Linked DNA regions of Homo sapiens: region 1 is linked to region 2. The links are contacts of gene promoters, found by promoter capture Hi-C in human tissues and cell types (Jung and others, 2019). All regions are on one chromosome and are shown on one strand. The core of a region is centred on a gene start or on the middle of the fragment in contact, and the rest is flanking DNA. Distances in the headings are between cores, read along the strand shown.

What was found. The method cuts DNA at HindIII sites, captures the fragments that hold promoters and counts their contacts. A contact is called where the count stands out against the background at its distance.
Region 1: a contact is called between a fragment that was not itself captured here and the fragment with the promoter of MARS2 in region 2, in 1 of the 25 tissues and cell types used here (hippocampus).

Annotation. Positions count from the first base shown.
Region 1 is chr2:197,186,045-197,190,196 of GRCh38, forward strand. ANKRD44 (ankyrin repeat domain 44) reads right to left here. Exons shown (of 28, transcript NM_001195144.2): 2 at 979-1,062. Among named protein-coding and RNA genes, the nearest start is that of ANKRD44-AS1, 9.9 kb to the right of the region's middle. RefSeq lists an enhancer at 496-1,695. The HindIII fragment of the contact is 4,059 bases long and covers 768-4,152 here.
Region 2 is chr2:197,702,857-197,706,627 of GRCh38, forward strand. It overlaps MARS2 (methionyl-tRNA synthetase 2, mitochondrial), which reads left to right and starts at 2,513. Exons shown (of 1, transcript NM_138395.4): 1 at 2,513-3,771. The coding sequence starts at 2,550. RefSeq lists a silencer at 2,327-2,566 and enhancers at 2,707-2,756, 2,797-2,916. The HindIII fragment of the contact is 12,008 bases long and covers 1-3,771 here.

The sequences.
Region 1 (4,152 bases), core at 1,547-4,046, 520 kb before region 2:
AATTTGAATTTCAGGTCATTTTCATGTGTCACAAAATATTATTCTTCTCTTGATTTTTTTCTCAACACTTGAAAAATAAAAACCATTTTTAGCAGGAGGCCTGCAGAAAAAAATGTATGATGTACCATAGGTTGCCAACCACTGCTGCAGGGCATGGGTTCCAGGGGTTCATCACCTTGGAAAAAAAATTGCACCTCTATTATCACTGACTTCTGATTGGAATTTAGCATTTCCTTCCACTATGAATGTAGGCCATAAACCACAGTAGCAACATCAGTAACTGTAATGCTGTCACCAGCAGAAATCACAGGTATGTTCATATAACATTAGAGTTGTTGCACACAACTCAAAATACTGATTATGCTCATCACTATATTTAAATTATGCTCACTCTTAGATCTTCTGCTGTATCTGGTTATTTAACCAGATTTTTTTTTTGAGGTAGGGTCTTACTCTGTCAACCAGGCTAGAGTGCAGTGGCGTGATCAAAGTTCACTGCAGCCTCGAACTCCTGGGCTCAGGCAATCCTCCCACCTGTGCCTCCATCACTATGCCCGGCTAATTTTTCTTTTTTTTTTTTTTTTTTTTTTTTTTTTTTTTTTTAGAGACAGAGTTTCACCATGTTGCCCAGGTCTCAAACTCCTGGGCTCAAGTGATCTGCCCAACTCAGCCTCCCAAAATTCTGGGATTATAGGCATGAACCACTGCGCCCAGCCTAAATGTGTTATTTTTTTTAAAAGCACATATATTACCATATTACAAAGTATATTTTTAATATTTGGGTAACTGTATCTCAATAACTGATTTCCATTGTAACCCTAGATATTTTATTTCTTATATAGGGTTTAAGAACAGTGTCCTGAGAAACAGTCTGGAGCTTTCACCAGATATCAAGAGTCCATGGTATATAAAAGGTTAAGAGTCCTTTCCTGCTCCAGGCTAACAGGGCCTGAGTAGCAAAACCACAGTATCTCTTACCAGAGTATTCACATCTTCAGTTTTATGGATGAGCATCCGGATCTCCTCTGGATCACCGCTGAAGATTGCCTGAACCAATGGTGGCTGCAAACACAAGAGAATGGGAATCAGAACTAAAATTAATACATCTGATCACATACAGATGCAGATGGTGAGAAGATTTGTTCCTTAAAAGTTTATTGAACCATTATCAGTTGGCAGACAAAGATGAATAAGACTCAGACCAACCCTTACAAGAAGTCCAGTGGGGGAGATATTTACATAAAGAAATAACTATTATACAATCTGAAAGCCAGGCCAGATAGTCTCTAACCTGAACTATGAACTACAGTGAATGTACCATGAACACCACCCATCACTGAAACTTTGATAGGCCCTTAAATCCCTGACAAGGAAACTACTAAATCTGTGGTTTTGTGCATACAATCCCTGTTATGAATTGAATTGTATCCCCACCAACATTGATATGTTGCAAGCCCTAACCCCCAAAGCGACTGTATTTGGAGACAGGGCCTTTAAGGAGATAATTCAGATTAAAAGAGGTCGTAAGGGTGTGGCCCTGATCCAATAGGACCGGTGTCTTCATAAGAAGAGGAAGAGACACCAGAGCTCACGTTCTCATTCTCTCTCTCTCTCTCTCTCTCTCTCTCTCTCTCCCTCTTCTTCTCCCTCTCTCTCTTTCTTCTCTCTCACACAGGAGGAAAGGCCATGTGAAGACACAGTGAAAACGTGGCCGTTGGTAAGCCAGGAAGAGAGGCCTCACCAGAAACTAACCCTGATTTTGGACTTCCAACCTCCAGAACTGGGAGAACAAAAATTTCTGTTGCTTAAGCCATCCAGTCTATAGTATTTTGTTATGGCAGCCTGAGCAAACTAAGACAGTTCCCTATGATTCCTCTACTTCTTGTTAGACAATGTTCCTTGTTATCCTCAAATAATTCCATTCCTAGAGGATGCTAATGGCCATGTTTCTGGCCACCGGAACACTTTTGTGTCGGTATTTGGAAAACCCTTGAAATCATTCCCAAATGCCTCCCATAGCTTTAGCCAACAAGTACTGTCTTAAACATGATTACATCTACTGCTTATTAAAAGTAAGTGGCACGATGGCAGTTTAGGGAAGAAGAGGGGGGTGTTACCAAGCTCTTATTATTGAACTCATCTACATTAAACAAGACCCCAGCATGCAGTAGAAGGATCTATATAGTGTGATGGAAACACAACCAAAAGAACAGCTAGCTCCACTTGGGTAGGAGGCTGGGTGAAGACAAGGGTGTATCCAAAAAAGCTTAAGGAAGGCACCTTAATGAATAAATATGATTTGCTGACAGGGAAGGAAGACAGAGGAGGTACAGGTGTGCAAAGGTGTGGATGTGCAAAGAACCTGATATGTTACTGACCAGAGTGTGGGGTAAAAGAGGAACAGTGGCAGGCTTTAGGGTTGATGTTGGGCTTGCCTGCATGGCAAAAAATGCTATTCAAAGCCAGTCTCACACTTGCTAGCCACATGCAAAGCCCATTTCTACATGCAACTTGGGGGTGAGCATGATCATCGCTGCCTAACCTCCTCATGGGATTGTTATTAGGATCAAATGAGGTAGTACATGAGAAAATGTCCTCTAACCAGACAACCCTACATAGATGTTTTCATTAAGAAATGTTTCACGATGACAAGATGGAGTAGTTGATAATTTTCTTTTAACCTTAAGATCCTTGGTAATTATGCACACACACACATTCACCCAAAATTCTAGAAATATCTTAGTCCTAGTAGTCGATTAGATGACAGCAGTTTCCCCAATGTGTCTGACCATAAGAATCACCGGAGATGCCTATTAAAAAAAATAGTCCCAGATCCCTTTCCTAAGGATATAATACATTCAGGGTGGGGACCTGCAAATCTAGATTTTAACAAGTACCTATCAATTCTTAGGAACTGGTGGCAAGCACTGGCCTCAGGTGAAATCACTAGTGTCACATACCTTGACCTCACCCTGTGATCTGCTGTTGGGAATGTGAGTTGTCATTTTCCCTATAAACCCTCTTTTCTCTTTTTATCCTCCTGTTGGCTTTCTTACAGGTTATGTTGCTGTTTATTGCTAGTTTGGGGGACCAATATAAGTACTATCAGTAAGACAGAGTAAGATTCCTTGAGGAAACACTATGTAAAAATGTCAAGGTGCAGAATGGATATTTCAATATGCCAGGAATTTGTCCATGGGTTTCTCCTCTGCCATAAAAATTCCCAGCAAATGAACATATATCTCTTTTTCTTTCTCGAAAACACCCTCTCAATTCTGCTTCTTGACAAGGTGTATGGATAGTTTCTGAAATTGCCAACAATTAAGTAGCAGGAAAGAAGTCTTGAAAAGAATACAAGTTTACTGCTAGTTCAGTCTTAGCTACTTACTCTGCTTAAAGACAGGCAGATCCTTCCACACTCCCCCTAACTACCTGCTAACCAAGTCTCCGTTCGGGTTACATCTGCCCCGTGGCAAGGACCACATTTCACACAAGACACAGAGCCAGACACAAATTCAGGGTTTCGACAAAAAAAAATATTGAATCTTGTTTATCTGCTCCATAATTCTCCATCTGCTGTGCTCATGGCCAAATGCTCATGTGTGCATTTCTGCCTTTTTGGACCTTAAAAGAAAACAAGCAACAAACCTCCACAACCAGAGAACGATAAGTAGAGGCAGTGTCTGACAAGATTTTCATGTTAAATCAGGAGTAGTCAATCAACAGCTGAACAGTTAAGATTCCGGGGAACAAACCCAACACAGTAGTTAATGCACCACTACTTAGTCACTTTAAGGGAACATAATGAGGTGAGCAGAGTCTCCCAGTTGCGAGTGTACGGAATACATACATTCTGTTGCATTCACTCCGTCCTCACACTTCTGAAGAAAGGCAAGCATTCCAAGCTATGGCTGGAATGTTACCAAGGAGAGGCATCCCAAAAAAGCTTCCAGAGAAGGGCGCCAGCACAGTCCTCAGCAGGGAGTGGTGCCTCTGGGACTAATGCTGCTAAAAGCTACTTTATAGAGAATTGTCAAGGCACAGAATCCCCAGGAGCCATTAGGAAGAAGAGGCTGAGCTATCATTATAACTCTTCCAATACTGAAGTCACATATATGCATACATATGCACCTAGGTACATATGCATACCTA
Region 2 (3,771 bases), core at 1,263-3,762:
TACCACATTTTCTTTATTCAGTCTACTGTTGATGGGCATTTAGGGAAGATTCCATGTCTTTGCTATTGTGAACAGTGCTGCAATAAACATGGGAGTGCGTTTTTTTTTTACAGTAGAATGATTTATATTCCTTTGGATATATACTCAATAATGAGATTGCTAAGTCAAATCATAATTATGCTTTGTGTTCTTTGAGAAATCACCAAACTGCTTTCTATAATGGCTGAAGTAATTTACATTCCCACCAGCAGTGTATGTGTTGCTTTTCTCTGCAACCTTGCCAGCATCTGTTGTTTTTTGACTTTTTAATAATATTCATTCTGACTGGTGTGAGATGGTATCTAAATGTGGTTTTGATTTGCATTTCTGTAATGACGAGTGATGTTAAGCATTTTTTATATGCTTGTTGGCCGCATGTCTATCTTCTTTTGAGAAGTGTCTGTTTATGTCCTTTGCCTTTTTAATGAGGTTTTTTGCTTATTGATTTTTAAAATTCCTTATAGATTCTGGATATTAGACCTTTCTTGGATTCATAGTTTGAAAATATTTTCTCCCATTCTGTAGATTGTCTGCTTACTCTGTTGATAGTTTATTTTGTGGTGCGGAAACTCTTTAATTAGGTCCCATTTGTCAATTTTTGTTTTTGTTGCAATTGCTTTTGGCATCCTCATGATGAAATCTTTGTCAGGTCCTATGTCCAGAATGGTATTTCCCAGGTTACCTTCTAAGGTTTTTAGTTTTAGGTTTTACATTTAAGTCTTTAATCCATTTTGAGTTGAGTTTTGTATATGGTATAGGAAGGGGGTCCTGTTTCATCTGTATATGGCTAGCTAGTTATCCAAGCACCATTTATTGAATAGGGAGTCTTTTGCCCATTGCTTGTTTTTATCAACTTTGTTGAAGACCAGATGGTTGTAGGTCATTCTTAAACTGCTGGATTAAATAAGAGCACATCAACTGAGTATCCAAAGTTATTTTTTATATCTCTTATACAGAATTCGATTGGTCCACCTTTCATCATATCACTAGAGAAATCAGATCCAAGTTACCATATGTGTTCAGTCAAAGGTTATTATACAGCAGTCAAAATGAATGAATTACATGCAACATGTATTAAGAACATATGAATGCAGTTACATGCAACAACATGGATTAATATAGCAACAAAATGTTGAATAAAAAGGCAAGTTGAAGACTACATGTAGTATTATATCCTTTTTAGAATATTTAAATGCAAGCAAAATTAAACAATGTTACTTAGACATACTTTGTATGTGATCACACAAATGTGCAAGAACAAAATTCAGGACAATGACTACCTCAGGGAGGACAGTACGAGAAGAAAAGGAGCACACAGATCTAAATCACTGGTAATTTTCTAGTTCAGTGTTTCTCAAACTTTAATGTGCATCAGAATCACCTTAAAATCTAAATTACTGGGCCCTACCCTCAGAGTTTTCTGGTTCAGTATGTGGGGGATGGGGCCTAAGAATATACATATCGAACGAAGTTCCAGGTGCTGCCAGTTCTGCTGCTCTGGGGACCACACTCTGAAACCACTTGTAGTTCTTAGATTGGGTTGTAGGTTCATAGCTGCTCCATTTTATTATTAAATGTATATGCTACTTAAATTAAATTAAAAAAAAAAGATCAAAGATGAGAGTGTGTTATGAACTAGGGATTAACATTAATTCAATTCTGGGCTCCTGAGGTTTCCTCCCCTAAAAAAAATTCTAAGGTTCCATTACTAAAAGCAAACTTGAGAAACACTATTTTAAAAGAACTTCAAGACCATTAAAAAAATTAACTTTTTGAGAAATAAATTTGAAAATTATTCTTTATATGCACAGTGACAGCATATTGCACTCTACTTTCCTGGATCTCAATAAACTTTGGCAAGAACTTGGCAGATCACAAATCTACTTTTGTTGATTCAACAAAAACTGTTTAAAGACTTCTCTTCCATTCTCAGTTCTTATCCTTCTCTCAAAATGCTGTAGGTAATGATTTTTCATCTTTTTTCTCTCTCCCTCCCTTACAGATTGATTTAGGCTCTGAGATAAAATTTAGGTGACATTTTAGATATCGACAGGGCATGTGCAGAGCAATACTCTGTCTTGCAGTATGCCAGCCACGGACGGGGTTTAGACAAACGGCTGAATATAAAACTCTTGCCTACAAGCAGCTCAGCCTAGAGGGGGAAACAGATTCATAAATATAAAATTACAATCCAAAGCAGGAAACACAGTATGTTATACGAAGGCAAAGAGGTTCGTCTTCTTTCATAGCCTCTCCTAAACCCGGCAACTCTGAGCTGTTTTTCTGGCAAGCCGCCGTCCATTGGCGGCCTCTGGCGCCGCGGCTTTCGGCGTGCGGACGGCGCAGGCGCGGGCGGGGCGGGGCCGGGCGGGGAGGGCGGTGAGGGCCGGCGCTCGGGGCCGCGTTTCATTGGCTTTCCGGCCGGAAGCTGCGGCGCGACCCGGCTGCGCATGCGCCTCTCACACGTGCTGTCAGAACGCCGCCTCCTCCGCTTGCGGCCGGTCTGCACCATGCTGCGAACGTCCGTCCTCCGCCTGCTAGGACGCACGGGGGCTAGTAGGCTGTCTCTCCTGGAGGACTTCGGCCCACGCTACTACAGTTCGGGCTCCCTCAGTGCCGGCGATGATGCTTGTGATGTGCGCGCCTACTTCACTACACCCATTTTCTACGTGAACGCGGCGCCGCACATCGGGCACCTGTACTCGGCACTACTGGCGGACGCCCTATGCCGCCACCGTCGCCTCCGAGGTCCCAGCACGGCCGCCACGCGATTCTCCACTGGTACCGACGAGCACGGGCTGAAGATTCAGCAGGCAGCAGCTACCGCGGGCCTGGCCCCGACCGAGCTGTGCGACCGAGTCTCTGAGCAGTTCCAGCAGCTTTTCCAGGAGGCCGGTATCTCCTGCACAGATTTCATCCGCACCACGGAGGCCCGGCACCGGGTGGCTGTGCAGCACTTCTGGGGGGTGCTTAAGTCCCGCGGTCTGCTCTACAAGGGCGTCTATGAAGGTTGGTATTGCGCTTCCGACGAGTGCTTCCTGCCTGAGGCCAAGGTCACCCAGCAGCCGGGCCCATCGGGGGATTCGTTTCCTGTATCTCTCGAGAGCGGGCATCCAGTCTCCTGGACCAAGGAAGAAAACTACATTTTCAGGCTTTCCCAGTTCCGGAAGCCACTCCAGCGGTGGCTGCGGGGCAACCCTCAGGCGATCACCCCCGAACCATTTCATCACGTAGTTCTTCAGTGGCTGGACGAGGAGCTGCCCGACCTGTCCGTGTCTCGCAGAAGTAGCCACTTGCACTGGGGCATTCCGGTGCCCGGGGATGATTCGCAGACCATCTATGTATGGCTGGATGCCCTGGTCAACTACCTCACTGTAATTGGCTACCCAAATGCTGAGTTCAAATCTTGGTGGCCGGCCACCTCTCATATCATAGGTAAGGACATTCTCAAATTCCATGCCATCTATTGGCCTGCCTTCCTGTTAGGGGCCGGCATGAGCCCGCCACAGCGCATCTGTGTCCATTCCCACTGGACAGTCTGTGGCCAAAAGATGTCCAAGAGCTTGGGCAACGTGGTGGATCCTAGGACTTGCCTTAACCGCTATACCGTGGATGGCTTCCGCTACTTTCTCCTTCGGCAGGGCGTCCCCAACTGGGACTGTGACTACTATGATGAAAAGGTGGTTAAGTTGCTGAACTCCGAGCTGGCAGATGCCTTGGGAGGTCTCTTGA